Regions from separate parts of the Homo sapiens genome. Here region 1 is linked to region 2. Evidence: promoter capture Hi-C in 16 types of primary human blood cells and fetal thymus (Javierre and others, 2016). All regions are on one chromosome and are shown on one strand. The core of a region is centred on a gene start or on the middle of the fragment in contact, and the rest is flanking DNA. Distances in the headings are between cores, read along the strand shown.

Evidence for each region. The method cuts DNA at HindIII sites, captures the fragments that hold promoters and counts their contacts. A CHiCAGO score of 5 or more calls a contact.
Region 1: a fragment that was not itself captured here is called in contact with the fragment with the promoter of NAA16 in region 2 in 2 of 17 cell types (monocytes and fetal thymus); the score reaches 6.1 in monocytes.

What each region holds. Positions count from the first base shown.
Region 1 is chr13:42,107,032-42,111,877 of GRCh38, reverse strand. The region is part of intron 1 of DGKH (diacylglycerol kinase eta); the gene reads right to left. Among named protein-coding and RNA genes, the nearest start is that of DGKH, 61 kb to the right of the region's middle. The HindIII fragment of the contact is 6,038 bases long and covers 138-4,846 here.
Region 2 is chr13:41,307,773-41,312,579 of GRCh38, reverse strand. NAA16 (N-alpha-acetyltransferase 16, NatA auxiliary subunit) reads right to left here and starts at 1,313. Exons shown (of 20, transcript NM_024561.5): 1 at 998-1,313. The coding sequence starts at 1,051. It also overlaps a transcript of MTRF1 not described here. The HindIII fragment of the contact is 1,668 bases long and covers 17-1,684 here.

The DNA of each region.
Region 1 (4,846 bases), core at 1,907-4,406, 800 kb before region 2:
CCTGTCCAGAAAGGAAGAAATTCAACCTGTCAAAAGCCAGTTATGCTGCAGCCTGTGCAAACCTGAGAAGTGGTTATGTCTGCCCCGCGAGACCTAATTGAGGGAATGTATGCCCAAGAAATGCACAGAAGCAAGCTTCCCCCTGTCTAGTGAAGTATTCCAACACCTCTGGATATATTCAAATATCTTTATTATTTTGTTTGAAATACTATAAACTCTAATATTTGGGACATTTACATTTAAATATAAATTATGCATTCTAAAGCAAAATAATGAAGATTATCCAACATATTTTTTTTTGAGATGGAGTCTCACTCTTCCCCAGGCTGGAGTGCAGTGGCACACTCTCAGCTCACTGCAACCTCCGCCTCCCAGGTTCAAGCGATTCTCGCACCTCAACCTCCCAAGTAGCTGGGACTACAGGCACGTGCCACCACGCCCGGCTAATTTTTGTATTTTTAGTAGAAACGGGGTTTCACCATGTTGCCGAGGCTGGTCTCGAACTCCTGACCTCAAGAGATCTGCCCACCTCGCCTCCCAAAGTACTGGGATTACAGGCATGAGCCACTGTGCCTGGCCTATCCAACATATTCTAATCACCCTCTGTATCAGTAAACCATCTAGTGATTGCTAATGTACTTTGTCCCTTGCAATGGCTTATAATTTTCTCGAGAATATCTATAATGATGTAATTACCTCCTTGAGACTGTATTTTGTGAACATTTATTTATTAATTTCTAAAATTAAGCTGTCTCTCCTTTTTTTATATGTACCTTCTTTAGAGCAGTTTCTGAATGTATTTTTCTTTTTTTAATTTTTATTTTAAGTTCCGGGGTGCATGTGCAGGATGTGCAGGTTTGTTACGTAGGTAAACATGTGCCATAGTGGTTTGCTGCACCTATCAACCCATCACCTAGGTGTTAAGCCCAGCAGGTATTAGCTATTTTTCCTAATGCTCTTCCTCCCCCCACTGAGTGTATTTTTAAATTAGTATTAGGTAAAAGTATATGGCTTTATAACGTACCGTTACATGCAGAAGGTACAAAATGTACATGCTGTATAAATACCAGACATAACAGTTTTTTCATAAAATATAATGAACTACCATGCATTACCACAAGGTGGCAGTGGTGCTATGCTAATGATTAGGATTTTCTTTCTCAAATGTGAACACAGATGGGCTTTTCTTCAGTTGCACAAATCCTTCCCGTAACTGGTAAATGCCTGAATGTCGTATGTGTAACTGTGTTGTAAATGGGTAAAACAACGAATGAATGAATGAATGAATGATTATCCTTCAAATTCTGAATTTACTTCTTCCTTATCAAATGCCCCTACTCACATCCAAGAATAATCCCTTTGCCCACACATGACATTTTGATGTAACCAACCACTTTCCCCCATGGCCACAATGATGCAACTATTTTGATGTGGGGACATTCTGATGTTGTCTAAAATAAACCACTAGACATCACGTTTGTTTTTTTAACTAATAACTAATGTGCAAAGTAGAGAGCCTCACACCATACCTGAGTCTCACAGGACTGCTGCGCTTACAATGTCCCCTATCCTGGAATGCAGTTTGTGGCTGCAGGAGGAGCTGGGGGTCAGTGGTAAGGTCAAGGGTGGGATGGGAAACAGGGTGAAGTGCAGGCATCTGACTGCTGAGCCACAGACAATCAGGAATCTCACATCTACCACATACAGTTATCTCAGAAAGAGCTACTCAGCATTTCACGCAAAAGATCTGCTTATTTTCTGGAATTTCAACTGCATCTTCAATAATCTGCCTCTGAAATTCTCTAGTTCTTTCCCCAAAGAATATCTGAGTCCCAACTACATGGGAAATCAGAAATCAGTTAGAAATCTGTCAGTTCTCTGGATGGGTAGACAGATTAGATACATAGATAGATAGATATAGATAGATACACATATATATGTTATATTTAATATCATAAACTCCACTCCAATGATGATTTTGATGGACCAGACTGATACCCCTAAAAAGGATAACCCAGTTCTAGTAGATTTTTTAAAAATATCTTATTAATAACTGTTCACAGAAATGAAGAGAATCAAATGTGAGTGTCCTCTGTGATTAGCATGGAACCAAGAAATGGTTAGCATGGAACCAAGAAATGGTCAGAGATGAAGGCTGTGCAAATTACTAGAAAAAACAGCAACAGACACACACACACACACACACGCACACACACGCACGCACAGGCACGCACGCACAGCTGCACATGGGTTCTCTACTTTGGTCTTGACAGCATTTTCTTGCATCCCTTCATCTGGATCCATCCTGTCTTCCATTTATTCCTCCTTTGAGATCTTTCTATATTTCTCTATCATTTGCCAAAAAAATCTAAGCCCTCTCTCCCTTAGGCTACTTCTGTTTATTGTTCTTATTTCCACCTTTGCGTTGTGGTGTAATCGTCCATCTCCATCATGCACAGAGGTGCAGAGGTACGGCCTGGGTTCAAACCTTGGCTCCACGGCTGACTAGTTGTTAAAGACTTTGAACAAATTACTTAACGTTTCTGTGACTGAGTTTCTGCTTCTTTATGGATAATAACAATAACTAAGCCATAGGGGTGTTGTGAGGACTCAGTGAGTCAATGCATGTAAAGTATCTGCAATGGTTCCTGACACACGGTGCTCAGTAAATACCAGCTGGTCTTGTGTTACTCTCGTTCCTGTCCTTTATTAGACAGTAAATGTCCCCAAGTCAGATTCATGTTTACTTCATCTTTGTCTCCTTAGCACCCAGCACTATGCCTATCACCTCAGTGGTACTTACAATTTGTTTGTTAAACTAAATTGAACTAGTCCCTCTGTCTTTCATCTCTAATCGTTCTCTCTCCATCCATTCCTTCCCGTTGGCATATCTTATTTTTAAAAATAACAACTTTTTCCACCTCTTGATTATGTCCCAGCTTCCAAGCTATGCCTTCCTCTCCATTATGACAAAACCGCTTTAAAAAATTAGAATCCTCTCGCTGCCTCTGTCCTTTCCTTTCCTTCAGCCTTACTGCATGCATTATAGCTTCCACTCCCTCCTTTTCAGGAAATCTACCCCTTGGCTATTTCCAATTACAGCCTATGTGCCAAATCTCTCTGAATGAACTTCTTCCCATAGTTCCAATTATCTCCTCTAAATATATACATAACTCCTAAAATAAATTTCTGTATTTATTCTCATTTTCACTCCAGCTCCATTTACAACTGCCTGCCTGACATCTCCACTTAGAGATGCCGTCACCACCTGAAACTCAAGTACATTTTATTTCACGTAACACATGTCTTAGTTTAATAGAAAAGACACTGGCCTGGCTTCAGAAAACCTAGATTCTAATTCCAAAATTGCCAGCAGCTAACTACACGGCACTGGGTAAAAGTCACTCTATACGGAATTCCAAATGAATTCAGCACCTTCCCGTGGCAATTCTGCTCCTCTTCCTATGACCTCACCTGCTAGCAGCAGTGTATTTTCCTAAGCACTGCTTAGGAACCCCAGAACTCCCAACCTATCTTTTATTTTCCCTCACCCTTAAATTTATTTTCCCTCACCCTTAAATTAATCTGCCAATCAAAAGGTTTCTGAAAACTGGTCTTCCTTTTTGCTCCTGTGCCCAGTGACCTAATGCTTGTGATTTTATTATTCTTGCCTAGACTATAACAATGACCCCCTATGAAGAAATGCTTCCAAGACCAGCACACCAGAAAGAACCTCCTGATGGTGAGCAGGGCCAGAACCACCACCTGCCTGTCACAACACTAACTCTTCATTTGATTCCTCTTGAAGTTTGGCCCGAGTGTGAAAAATGACTCTTCTTTTAAGGACTCGTAATAAAGCAGAGGTGACACAGAACACTCAAACAAGACTTTTCTAAAGGTTGGCACTAATAAAAGGGAAGTAGACAGAAAGTACCATTTTAGACAATAGGACAAAATCCCTTTTGTCCTCCATGCCTCTGAGCCCAAAGAGAGACTCTAGGACCCTTCTGTCTCAGCTCCCCCATCAGGGGCATACCAGGGGTCCCCAAAGGCCAAGGAGCACAAGCTCAGAGAGACAGCACACTCAAGGTCTCCACACCAAAGCTAAGAAGCCGAGCCCTCCTGCTTGCCTGTCTACGATCTGTCCTTGCAGTTCTTGTTCCTGTACTCACAGCGGGGCTGCCTTACCCGGGCAGGCCTCAACTGAACACCACAGTCCCACAAAAGTCCCCCACTGTTCACAAGACAATCACATGGACAGAAACAGGAAAAACAGATGTATTTCCTTACACTGAACTAGCCCCCTGTCTAATTAATCCTCCATACTCCCTCCCTCCCTCCAGAATTGTTTCCTTAAGGCAGATCTCATCTGGTCACTTCCCTGCTCAAAATCTTTATTGGTTGTTCATCAACTACAGAACAAGGCAAAGCCCTTTAATTCGGCATGGAAGGCCTCCCACTGGTTTCATCTTCACAGCTTCACCCTCTTGAAACATCACTTCTATCCCCACTCCCCACTGCCTGCAGTGTCTGCTCCTGGCATTCTGGTCTACCTGCCATTGGCCAAACAAAACACTCATCTTCCTCCCACCTTGGGTTCTTCATATGGGTGGCTTTCTGCAGGTGCAGAATGCACACCCCCGCCCTGGACCTTTCCTCTCGTGACTCACCCTTAAATGCTGGACTTAAATAACCGCTCCTCCAAATGTCACTCAAGCAGAGCTCACTCATTTGCAATTCTATGTTGTCAGTCCTCACAGAGCCATATTTGTAAATTGCAATAGATTCACACAGGAGTGTGATGCACAAAATTATCTTTTCTCTCTTTTTTTTTGAGACACAGTCT
Region 2 (4,807 bases), core at 64-2,563:
TTAGCAAATAAAAGCTTTTTTTCAGGTGAAAAGATAAACTAGAAAAGACAGTTACCTACTAACAATATTAGTTTAAAACCTAGGGTAGCCAGAGGATACTGAGGAAAGCAAAGGAATGCTGCCTCTTCTCCTTGGAAGAACAGAACCTGGAAAGCTACCAGGGACGCTGGCACACAGCCCACAGAAAACTGCCCACCCGGCTCCGCAGCGGTCATCACTACGGGGCCATTATTCAGGCTTCTGCTCCGCGATAAAGTAAAAATGCTCCCCTCAAATGCAAAACCAGCCAGTCCACGCGGCTTTAATTACTCAAGCAAGGCCTGTGCGACTAAAAAGCAAACAGCTGTTTTGAAGTTGGTGACAACTCAGAAACGCACTTCAAGTCAAATATTCACTTCCAAAGAGGTAAATAAGGTACATTACAAACAGGCAAACTTTTTCCCAAAGGGAGGTGGTGCCAGGCCTGGCTTCCTAAAGTTGCCGGTTTTATTTCCTCGTAACCAGGAAAAATTCCACCATCGCATCGATCCCGCTTTAATAGGTATGCGGGTGTGCTGTGCAATCTAACTAAACGCAAAGCAGAGAATGCAGAACGCAAAACACCTAGCCGAGGAGAGACTGGCAAAATAAACCACCGGGGGAGGATCCCTGAGGGGCTGCTGCGAGCCCGGCGCGGCAGAGAGCACGGCAGCCACTACCGGCCGAGGCGGCTGTGCCCGGGCACTGCGGAGAGCGGCGTGAAGTTTCTGGAAAGAGCGCGGCGGGGGTGAGGCGAGCCGCAGAAGACCGCGGAAAGGAAGCGCACGGAGGAGCGGCTCGGCAGCCCCCGTGGGCCGGCCGGAGCGGGAAAGTGGGGTCCCGCGACCTCCGAGGTAAACAAAGAGCGGTGGGCAGCGGAGGCCAAGCCTGGCCCGCGCCGGCCGCCGCCAGACCGCTTGCCCTTAAGGCCCGAGGACCCGGGGACCGGGGGGCGGCAGCGCGGCCTACGGCCACTCACCAAGATGCGTTTGAAGAGGTTGCTCTCCTTGGGCGGCAGCAGCACGTTCGGCATCGTGGCCGGCAGGGAGGCTAGGTGGCCGGCAGGGAGGCTAGGTGCCCGGGCGCTCCGCTTCGCGGGGGTGGGCACCGGGACGAACCGCTGCTGAGAGTCGGGCTGCGGGCGATGGATTAGTTCATTGGTCTACAGTTGCAATTGGGCAGCCTGGCTGTTCGGCACGGGTGGCAATGGAGAAGGAAGGCGGTCTGAGCAGGACACGCTTCCCCTGGGCTCCGCTTTTTGGCCAGCGGCGGCGGCGGCGGTTCCCGCGCACTGCAAGATGGCAGCCAGGGTCCGCCTCCCGAGCCGGATCCTGTGCGCATGCGCGGAGCGCCCTTTGGCGAGGGGCTGCGGGTGACTACGGGGGCGTAGCGGGGACCAACCGCGTGGATTTGCCTTGTGCTGCGGCTCTCCTCGCCGCAATCTCGGCACCCCCTGGGGCTCAGGCGAGCTGTCACCAAAACCTTGGAGTCCCATGGGGTGGTGAGTCACCACCCTCATTCACCATTGCTCCTATGCATCAGAACGCCTCATAAGACTCCTACTTATTGTCTGCTTCTCCTTGCAATAAAGTAATAAATAAAAACGAGAATTTTCTTTTAAGTAGAAAAGAGAAGACACTGACTTGTATTGCACTCTTGATAAGCTTGTGGCGCAAGATAATGTTAGTTATGACTCTGAAGAGTCAGAGTTTTTTGCATTTCTCCCCATTTAGGAATTTAAGTGTCCGATGCAAAGTAGACTTTTGATGAAAGATGAACTTGTTTTCTTTCCTTTTCCTCCTTGATTCAGACTCTAAGTAGAAGCCTTCTCTTTCCAGGGCAAACCAAACAAACATTTACAATCTTTGTTTTTGTTTGGTTGGTTGGTTTTGAGATGGAGTATCGCTCTTGTCGCCCAGGCTGCAGTGCAGTGGCGCTATCTGGGCTCACTGCAACCTCCGCCTCCTGAGTTCAAAGGATTCTCCTGCCTCAGCCTCCCGAGTGGCTGGGATTACAGGCATGCGCCACCACACCCGGCTAATTTTGTATTTTTAGTAGAGACAGGCTTTCACCATGTTGGCCAGGATGGTCTTGATCTCTTGACCTCGTGATCCGCCCCCGCGTCAACCTCCGAAAGTGCTGGGATTACAGGCGTGAGCCACCACACCTGGCCGGAATTACGGTTTTATAAGGCCACTGGTCTTCTGAGTCTACCTACCCTTTCTCTTCAGATGGTTCCCCTTCCTGAAAGCCATATAATAATGGGAGAAACAGGCTTCAAATTCAGGATCTTCCAACTCTGGGATACTCTCTACAACAAATAAAAGGCAGCATATTGATGGTAATGTGTGAGTCTAGAAAGATACAACAGTGGCAAGAATAAACCATACATTCAGTGTAGGGTTAGTAGTAAGGTGTGTGTAAACATTAGGTACATAAGTTTATTTATACATGTGCTGAATCTTAATGGGTGCATATTTCTGAGACTATAAAGTAATTGATGAGTAACTGCATTTAGTCGGCTGTAATCAGAACTGGGCTGCCCTTTTTTATTTTCCTTTTTTTGAGACGATGTTTTGTTCTTGTTGCCGAGGCTGGAATGCAATGGCGCTATCTCAGCTCCCTGTAACCTCCGCCTCCCAGGTTCAAGCGATTCTCCTGCCTCAGCCTCCCAAGTAGCAGGGATGACAGGCATGCACCACCACACCTGGCTAATTTAGTATTTTTAGTAGAGACGGGGTTTCTCCATGTTGGTCAGGCTGGTCTCAAACTCCCGACCTCAGGTGATCTGCCCACCTCGGCCTTCCAAAGTGCTGGGATTACAGGTGTGAGCCACAGTGCCTGCCTATTTGATTTTCCTTCTTTCTAGCCTAAGTTGGTTGGACATGAAAGAATCATAGGAGTCTTTTTTTTTCTTTCAATCTCCTACGTTTCACACATGATTTTAAAGCATCATAGGAGTCCTTTAAAATAGGGAAAGTACTGTCATTAAAATTGGGGGTCCACAGCAATCCCATTGCTGGGTATATACCCAAAAGAATATAAATTGTTCTACCGTAAAGACACATGCACAGCCAGGTGCAGTGACTCACGCCTGTAATCCCAGCACTTTGGGCGGCTGAGGCAGGCGGATCACCCTGAGCTCAGGAGTTGGAGACCAGCCGGGGCAACATGGCAAACACACACACACACACACACACACACACACACACACACACACTAGCTGGGCATAGTGGCGAGTGCCTGTAGTCCCAGCTACTTGGGATGCTGAGGTGCGAGGATCAATTGAGCCTGGGAGACAGGTTGCAGTGAGCCAAGATCATGCCACTGCACTCCAGCCTGGGCAACAAACTGCCTCAAAAAAAAAAAGGACACATGCACGTGTATGTTCATCGCAGCACTATTCACAATAAAAAGACATGGAAGTAACCTAGATGCCCATCGGTGGACTGGATAAAGAAAATGTGGTACACCATGGAATACTACACAGCCACAAAAAAGAATGAGACCATGTCCTTTGCAGCAACACAGGTAGAGCTGGAGGCCATTATCCAAAATGAATTAATGCAGGAACAGAAAATCAAATACCACATGTTTTCACTTACAGGTGGAATTATAAACACTGAGTACCCATGGACACAAATAAGGGAACAGTAGACACTGAGGCCTACTTGAGGGTGGAGAGTAGGAGGAGGGTGAAGATTAAAAAACTACCTATAGGGTATTATGCTGATTACCTGGGTGACAAGACTGTCTGTACACCAAACCCCCACAACATGCAATTTACCTGTGTAATAAACCTGAACATTTACCCCTTGAGTCTAAAATAAAAAATGGAAAGAAAAAAATAAAAGTGGGGGTTCAAGGGCCTATGTGTACTCTGCAGAGCTCCCAAGCTGCCCAAGCTGTTAGGAAGTAGGCAAGTATAGATGCTTTAGGAGCTTGCCTTAGTCGCACCTGTACTAGTGGCAGTCCCCCACCCGGAGAACTGAGCAAGCACACAGAAGTGCCTCCTCTCAGCACCCTCATACTCAACCACTGCCATAATTGCTAGCCACAGTTTGCTTACCACGGCATTACTAATTCCTGAAAACCTTTGGCTCCCAATTTATCTACATTGTCATTTATCTACATCATCAGAAGTGAAGGGTTACTCACGAAAAGAGCCAAACCTTCAGTGCGTCAGTCAAGCCCTCACTTGACCCTCATAGGACATGGACTTTTCTAGACCTATTTCAAAATGACAAATTAGATTTTTAAAAGAAATATACAAGAGAAGGGAAGAAAAGCATAGTACCAACTGTAAATATTTTGAAGACAAGGAACGATTATCTTTTATGAAAGTTTCCTGTGGGCCTCTTCCAGCCTTATTTACTACAAATCATTAACTATCTTCACTCTCTGTGGTAGCAGCTAAATCATCACCCTCATTCACCATTGCTCTCCCCAACCCCTAAATCAGCAGCCCAGGAAGGTTCTTCACGTGCACTCTGCAGCCTCCGACCCACTGCCAACTTCCACTTCCCAGGACACACAGTTCCGTGCCAGCATCTCCCAGGGAAGCGCAGTCACGCAAAGAAAATCTGCAATCCCAAATACTAGAAAGCAGCACTAGTTTGCTACTAGTTATAAACTATAGTTATATATAGTTATAAATACTCATATTTAATATCTTCTTCATCTGTCTTTCACACACCATACACACATACCTTTTGTATTAGTCTGTTCTCACATTGCTATAAAAAATTACCTGAGACTGGGTAATTTATAAAGAAAAGAAGTTTAATTG